2 separate regions of the Homo sapiens genome follow, and region 1 is linked to region 2. Evidence: promoter capture Hi-C in 16 types of primary human blood cells and fetal thymus (Javierre and others, 2016). All regions are on one chromosome and are shown on one strand. Each heading gives the region's core, a stretch centred on a gene start or on the middle of the fragment in contact. The rest is flanking DNA. Distances are from core to core; before and after follow the strand shown.

Region 1 (4,019 bases), core at 1,071-3,570, 270 kb before region 2:
ACTGCTCTGCAGCCTCCTCTTTTGTATGGCTGCATCTCATATGTTTGCTGGACCTGTCCCCTATGGGATGCACTCAGGTGGGGCCTGATCAAACGTGAGGACAGACAGTGAGAGGCCCAGTGTGTACACCTCCCTGCACAGGTGCTTACCCAGCCACCAGACCATTTGTTAGAGGTGGAACTGCTGAGTCAAAGCAGGCTGCAGGGAAGCTCTGGCTAGGCTCTGCCCTCACCCACTCTCTCCAGCAGTGCCCAGAGAATCATCTGCAGCTCCTGGGATGCCTGGGGTCCCCCTCCCTCTTCCCACTTCTTGCCATCCTACCCCACTCCTCTTTGAAGGCTTAACCAGGGCAAAGTTGACTTTGGGGAGCACCCCCCATTATCTCCCTTGGTCCTTGCTTTACCTGCTGCAGCACTGGGCACCCCCTACCTATCACTAGCTCCAGGGCCTGGTTCCCTGCAGTGTCCTAGTGACCAGCATGGCATCTGACACCTACTCGGGGTCCAGGCAGGGTGTGGGGAAAGCAGGGAGTGAGTGATGAGGAAACAGGCATTAAGGAGGCCCATCTCTGGGGTGGGACCTCAGGGGCCTGGAATAAGTGAACTGGCTCCTAGATGGGTCCCTGCAGCCAACACGCTGAAGAAACTGCTGCCCAGAATGGACCAAGGTTATGAGTGACATTGCTTTCTCCTTGGCATGGGGCCTGGCCCACATCATGCTGCAGTATAGGATTCTGGGGACTTGGGCCCCCAGCTACAGGGACCACTGCAGGATGTCTAGGTGGTACCCCTCTCAGGGCCCTGTCCCTGTGGGTCCTTGCTGATTATCCACAGTATCTGTACACAGGTGTGGGCCCACCCTGCTCTAGCAGCCCTGGGAGGAAAGCCAGGGCACCTCCAGCCCTGAGCTGTTAAGGCCTGAGAGGAGTTTAAAACTCGCAGCCTTGAGACCCTGTGGCCTCTACACTGGCTCCTGTTGTGACATGGAGGGTCCACCTGCAGGCTGGGGGACTATGTGGAGGCCAGCAGCCACCTTCTACTTCCTGGCAGTGCCTGAAAAGGACAAAACCAGGGTACTGAGGCTATCCACATCCAGGGCAGCAAACATCAATGCTGCATCTTCCTACCATGCAGATGTGGATCCTGAAGCAGCTTATGAAAAGACACCTGCTTTCCAACAGACAGGGTCTATCTACAGTAGGCACCAGAATGGGCAGACACTGTCTCCTGGGTCTCCATCCGCTGTGCTGCAGCAGTACGTCCCGCTGAAGACCCTCCCATCCCTGCACCTCCCAGGGCACATAGACACCAACAGACACACCCGTGAGGACGGGTCTAGTTTGCATCACACACACCAGCACAGTTTGGATCCCTATCTCCTTTCCGTTTCCTTTTGTAACATAACACTGCTGATTTCAGAAAGGATGGAAGACCAAACAAATCAGGCAGTGAGTCCATGGAAAATCAGAAGGGAACCATAGACACCGCCGCCCGCTTGGCCACCCCCATGCTATTGTGACTCTCAAAACTTCCCCAGCCAGCCCTGAGAGGCTTGAAAGGCAGCATTTTACATTTGCATGTGCTCTGGTTTCATTCTGGCATCTTGCTTGGCCTTTTTCTGGTAACAGTGTGCTGAAGGGCACGTTTCCCGGGCAGGGTCAGGCCAGCTAGTGTGCCCTTGTTCATCTCTTTACTGTATCTTCATTCACATGCCCCAGTATGGGGGCTCCTATGTTTATTTACCTTGCACTGGGCACTATTCCCAGAAGCCCCTTCTGTTGTGGGCTTGTCCTTTCCCTGCCCCCAGGATTGGCCCCCTTGCCTGCTCGGCCAGGCCTAAGACCCACCACCAGCCATGGGAATTCAGCCAGCAGATGGGCCCCAGGATCCCAGTCAGGCTTCCCCTCCTAATGAGAGCCTTTAGGAATAACCCCTCTTCTCTGTGGCCTGGGGCGGTGTGCAGATGGACATACCTCCCGAACGGTGAGGGGACTTCCTATGGCCATGAGGCTGGCCTCCAGAGAAAGCTGGTCTGAAGAGTGAAGCCACCAGGCAGAGTCACGAGCCAGCAGGGTGGTAGCAAGCCAACTGGCTTTCTGCCTACACCAGGTGGAGCTGGGCTTCTGTGTTTGCAGCAAGAGACCCATGAGAAGGATGATACTGGCAGCCCCAGGATGACCTGGACACAGCGGTTCCCCACAGAGGGGCAGTAGCCACAGCAGCCCTCTCCCTCCACTGTCCCTCTAACACCGGGCCTGTGGAGGGCTATGAAGCTCCTAGAGAACCAAGGTGCTGAGGAGGGTCTCCTGGAGTGGGACAGGTACAAGGGACAGCCCCTGCTTCACCTGGTTTTCCTCACCACGGCCCACACAGGAGGAAGGGGCATGGCCAGGTTCCAACTGCCACAGCAGAAGCCCCACTGCATTCAGCCCAGGGACTCACGTTCGGGCCTCAGGGAGGGTGTGGAGAATGTGCCAGGGGTGAGCTTGGATAAAGCTAAGTCAGGGCCAGAAAAGAAGGGCATAGGCAGCAGTGACCAAGAGGCCTGGCTGAGGGCAGGTGGAGGGAGCCAGCACCAGGCCAACACCCCCACGGCATCTGAGGGAAAGGCAGAGGCAGGATCATAGATGGGCAGGGGCCATAAGTAGCAGCTGAGAGAAGCAGGGTCGCCGCGAGGAGGGTCTCCTCTGGCCCTCTCCTAGTTCTCCCTCAGCCCTGGGTCCCGCTGCTCTGGCCGTACCCCTTGCCTCGCCTCTCCCAGTTCCACAGGCACACTTGCTGTCTTCAGATTTGCCCCACTTGATTCCTGGGCCCTGGTGTCACCAGGGCTGGGTTCCCTGATGGCCACAGTGGCTGGGATAATGCTTGCTTATAGAGTTGAGGGCAGCTGGGGGTGCACACCAATAGCCTCAGAGGACTTAAAGACACTGAGATTGTGCTTGAGGCTTCCCCTCCATGCCAAGCATCTCTTTCCAGGCATCTCAGTCAATCCCCCAACCCTTCAGAACGGCTCTAGGCTCCTCACTGGCAGATGAGGTCACAGAGAGAGATTTTAACAATCTGAATAATTTATGAAGCCCCAGACTCTAAGCTGAGTGCCTGATACAAGTTACCAAACCCTGCCTACAGCCTTAAGACTTTGGTGGTCTTCCCTCTGCTCTTGAGGAAACAGAGCCTCAAACACTGAGTCCCATGGTAGAGTGAGCCTAGGGGTCCACAGAGGGAGGGCATGACTGCTATGATTTGGGAACCCACGAAGACTTTCCTGGGGGAACTGAGAGCTGGTTAAGTGGAGGTGGTAGGATGCTGCCGGGCCAGCCTGTGCTCTTGCCCTGTCCATTTATGAGGGGGCTGGGAAGCAGGGTGAAGTGCCTGGGGGCAGGAGGGCTGTGCAGTCTTGGCAGGTGGCACCACTTCGAGGTGACAAGTGTCCCTGAAGTTATAGAACACTGCTATTCCCGGCCAACAGGCCAAGGCCATGCCCAGGCCCATGGCTCATGGCTCATGCTGTCTCCAGCACACTGTGGTCTCAGGGGAGCTTACTCCTGGAGGGGCAGGGGCTCTCTTTTCTGCCAGACACAGCCTTTCACTCAGCCAGGGCCAACCCGGGGCTCGACAGCCTGATGCCACAAATTCAAACACTGTTCTGATTCTCATTGTAAACCCCACTGCTGGCTGCTGGGTCACTGCTTGGGCCATTTTTAGTGGCACAGCCCAAGGCTGTTCTGAGGCTCCCTGAGCTGAGGGTTCCCAGCTCTATCTGTCACCTTGGCGGACCCCACCTTTCAGTCATGACTCCTTCTAGAGCTTCCTCCACTTCTAGGGCACAGGCAAAGGCTCTTCAGGAAATCAAGTGCCCCTGGAAATTCCAAGGCAAGAAAGAAGGGTAAGCAAGAGGAGCAGGCCAGTCAGAACAGTACTCAGACCCAAGGCACGAGCTTGTCACAGAGTGGACGAGGGTCAGGTGTGGGCTGAGTAGGGACATAGAGATTCATCCTATGTCTACACTGGGAGGGACAA
Region 2 (4,095 bases), core at 614-3,113:
CAGGGAGTAAGCTGAGGAGGGCCTTGCTTTAGAGACCTTCATGGAAGGGGTGCCCCATCCCAAGATGGGTGCCACCCTTCCAGACTCCCTGGAGCTTCTATTCTCCTTCCTCTTCCTAATCTTCACCCCACCCAGCCCCATTGCTCTTCTGGAAGGAGAGCTCGCTGTCCAGTACTGCGCGGGATGACCGAGTGAACAGGGGACTGGAGACGAGATGTGGCTGGAGACTGAGAGAAGCAGAGGAGTCACACTCCACTCACCTCCACCTCCCAAAGTGCCGGGATCACAGGCTTGTGCCACTGCGCCCAAACATAACTGAAGGTTTTACAGACATGTCTGTGGCACCACAGAACACGAACGGTCCCAATGGAAACCCCACGCCCAATTTCCTCAGGGAACTGCTGTGGCGGAGGCTTGGTGGGTGTCTGAGGGGAGCAGAACCCAAGGCGTGGGGTTCGGGGGTGGACGGGGCGGTATGACCAAGAACTCTGCACCTCCCCCACCCACCCGCCTGAAAACTCTCCTGAAGTCACCTAACAAAGTGGATGGCAGTGAGTGGCTCTGGGTGGGATCTTTCTGTCCTCTGGCTACCCTCTGCCCAACAAGAAGGCTGGGGAAGGTGGGGCTGAGAGAAAGGTCTAGGCCTAGAAGACCTCGGACTCCTCCCAACTCCAACTCCTCCTCCCCCTCTTCCGTGGTCGGCTCACCTCCAGCACCCCACGTGGTGGCCCTAGGTACAACGGATTCCGGCGGGCAGAGCGCCTTAGATCCCGAGTCTGCAGCCCAGGGCAGAGTGCCAACTTCTCCTCATCCCTTCGTACGCCATAGAATGGAAAGACACTGGGGCTCCTCTGTTAGGAGCGTAGGAGGGACAGGCTGGACAAAAGGGCTCCCGAACAGCAGGTTCGGAGGAGAGCAACCCGGCCCTGACCCCCGCCCCCAACACCGTTCCCGACCTCGCTCCCCAATATCCCGGCTCTGCACCAATTCCTCCCGCAAGCCAAGGAACCCCGAGGCACTCCTAGTCTCTAAACCGTTTATTTCTCCCCACCAGAAGGTTGGGGTGGGCGGGCCTAGAACACAGCGTGCGGCGGGTTCCCGGGTGGAGCCAGCGCAGACAGCGTGGGTCCCTGCGGCTCTTAGGCGAAGGTGGAGTTGTTCCAGCCCACATTGGCCGCGTTCATGTCGTAATAGTTGATGTAGACCCTGCGGGGGGAGGAGGCCGGACTCAGCGGGTGGCTCAGTCCCGGGCCTGGCCGCGCGCCGCCGCCCCTCCCCCGCCCCTCCGCGACTCCGCGTACCTGTCCGGGCTGATGCGCAGGCGCTCGGCCAGCAGGCCGCACAGCAGCTTGCTGTAGGAGCGGTTCTGCGCGCCGCCGATCTTGCCGATGCTGTGCAGGCTGCAGAGCGCGCACGGCTCGCTGGAGCCGCCGAAGGCCATGAGCTGGTCCGGGACCACGTGCACCGCGATGTACTGCGAGGAAAGGGCGCGGTCAGCCCGCCCCAGCGACCTCGTCGGGCCCCGAACGTCCACTTCGGGCCCGAGCCACCGTCCTCCCCCCGCCCCGCCCCCCAGCTCCGTTCAGGAGTCGCCTCCCCAGCTCCCAGCGCGGAACCCCTCGTCCGGTGGGCACCCCCCTCTTCCTGTCCCCTCCCGGCAAACCTGGGGGGGCTTGCCGGTGGCCTGCGCCAGCTGCTGGGTGAGCTCGGAGAGGAACCCGTCCGGCACGGAGGCGCGGGGCACGTTGGTGTTTACGATGAACATCGGCATGATGGCAGAAGGACCAGGAGACCCGCGCAGAGGCACAGACGCACGCGCCGCGGCCGCCGCTGAGCTACGTGCCTGACTTCTCGGACACCACTGTGGTCCCGCCTTTTGTGACGCCACCGCCGGCGCCAGGCCCCGCCCCCGCGAGGCTGCGGCTCCGCCCCGAGTGGGGAAGTCACCGCCTGCCTCGGCTCGACCCCCGCAGGGCAGGACCCTGGGCGACTCCGCCCGTTCCTCCAGCAACCGCCGCTAAGCCCGGCGCACCGCTCCAACCTGTTCTCCACTTGGCGGCTAGAAATCGGCCTGTTCCGGCCTCGCCTCGGGTCTTTCTTAGTCCTTTCACTAAGTCACCGATGTTAGTCGCCAGGAGGCGCTGTGCCGGGGGTGGGGATGCGGCGGTGAACCCGGAAGATGGCCCCTTACCCTTCCAGAGATGAAGCCCAGTTCATTCCACTGCACGCACTGAGCCCCTGTACCTCCTGTCTTTGGGCCACATGTCCTCAAGGGCTCCAGTCCCGCATGCGTGAGCTTGTGTGTTTGAGATGGGGCGGGGTAGTCATCGCGGCAGGTGAGAGGGGAGCTGCCCCTGCGAATCACCATCCAGGGAACTTCCCTGAACCCCTGCTCTTTAAAGAGGATAGGATGCTGGGAGGCACCGAAGGGAAGGAGGCGAGGTCCAGAGCAGGTTCAGTGGTTCAAACGTGCTCAGCTCCCCTTCTCTGGGCCTCTGGGCAACTTCAGCTCCTCAGGGAAGCCACACCCTAGTCAGGTCCACCGTGTATGGCCTCTCATAGAGCCCTTGGTGAATTTCTTAAATGTCTTTTCCACTAATGGTAAACTCGGGGACCATCTAGCAGGTGCCAGGCATACAAGAGACATTGACTAATACTGCTGAATGAATGAATGAATGAATGGGTGAAAGAAGATAAGCCATGACATAGCAGGAAGAGGACAAGGCAGCAACTGGATCACAGGCCAGGTCCTCAGAGATTTCCAGGGAGGTCCTGTCCTTGGTCTCTGATAGGTGCAATCCATATACCAGTCTCAGTGAAGGCCATGTGATATAGGAAGGACACCCATGCCTGTGGGACCCTCGTGGCACCAGCCAGCCTCCAGCTGGGAGGCCCCATGGCCCATTTATACAAATAGCCTATGGGTATTGGTTCCTGCAGCTGGGCCCCAGACTCTTTCCCTCCTGGTGTCACACCTTCTCTTACCTGTGCCCAGGGCTCCCTAACTGATGGCACTCCATACCATGTCTCCAGCCAGGGGCACTCCCCTAAGTCCCAGGCGCTGACAGCAGCTGACTGAGTGTCCACTGCTCTGTAAAGTCCAAATGTATGACTTGTCCTCCTACACCTCATCACCTGCCAGTAAAATATGCTTCCTTTCACTATCCCTTTATTCCCACTTCTCTCCATTCCCTGAACTACCGCCTAGTCTACACTACCTGCATCCCCTTTGGCCTGGACCACTGTGACTTCCCTATGGTGGACTGCTGCTCCTCAAGGGAGGAGTCTGTTTCCAGCCCCAGGCAGCAGAGTTAGCCCCGACTCCCTGTGCCCTATGAAAGCTGAGCAGAATTACATAAGTCACTCCAGGCAGAAGACTGAAGAGCCAGGGCCTGGTTGACCTGTGCCCTGTGAACCTGAATGACAAGGTGCAGCCTCGCCAGCAAGCACATGAGCTGCCCCTGGAGGTGAGCCCCTGCCAATCTCAGGTTGTTACCATAACAAAGGGTTGCCTTACCTGGCCAGTGACGGAGCAGGAGCATTGCCATCTTGAACAAACACCACCATTCTAAGTTCCCCCTTAATTAAAAGCCGCCTAAATCCAGCCCGAAAATATCAGCCTAATAGCTAATGTCAGCATAACCAGAAACATTCCAACCCTAAGATAAACCCTTCTCTGACCAGAAACATGCCAACCCGGAGACAGCCTCCCTTCTGACCAGAGACATTCCATCCCCGCAATAAACTTTCCCTCACACAGAAACATTCAGAACCTATGATAAGAACCCCCTCCAAAACCCTTAAATATCCTTAGTTTGTAAGAGAGTGTGGCTCTGACCTAACTTGGCCAGAAGCCCCTCTCAAGTTTGTTTTCCAAAATAAACCTGTCCTTGTTGACTGTCGAGCCACCCTTGGTGTTTCTTTCCTCTTTAATTCTTATAGCCAGGACAGCCTCTGAGCCACTTGTCATCTCCTTGTACCCTCCCCAGCTGTTTCCAGTGGCAGTCAGCCTCATCCTTCTAGAAGGGTACCCAAAGAAGTGATATGATTTGCCTCTTACTAGCATGGACATTTGGCTCACTTTCCCCATCTGTA

Evidence for each region. The method cuts DNA at HindIII sites, captures the fragments that hold promoters and counts their contacts. A CHiCAGO score of 5 or more calls a contact.
Region 1: a fragment that was not itself captured here is called in contact with the fragment with the promoter of MIF in region 2 in 2 of 17 cell types (endothelial precursors and megakaryocytes); the score reaches 6.0 in endothelial precursors.

Annotation. Positions count from the first base shown.
Region 1 is chr22:24,160,169-24,164,187 of GRCh38, reverse strand. The region is part of intron 29 of CABIN1 (calcineurin binding protein 1); the gene reads right to left. Among named protein-coding and RNA genes, the nearest start is that of SUSD2, 19 kb to the left of the region's middle. The HindIII fragment of the contact is 7,010 bases long and covers 1-4,019 here.
Region 2 is chr22:23,892,151-23,896,245 of GRCh38, reverse strand. It overlaps MIF (macrophage migration inhibitory factor), which reads right to left and starts at 1,863. Exons shown (of 3, transcript NM_002415.2): 1 at 1,664-1,863; 2 at 1,302-1,474; 3 at 1,023-1,206. The coding sequence starts at 1,771. The coding sequence ends at 1,140. It overlaps MIF-AS1 (MIF antisense RNA 1), which reads left to right. Exons shown (of 3, transcript NR_038911.1): 2 at 136-417; 3 at 714-2,536. RefSeq lists enhancers at 573-1,380, 1,381-2,188. The HindIII fragment of the contact is 28,199 bases long and covers 1-4,095 here.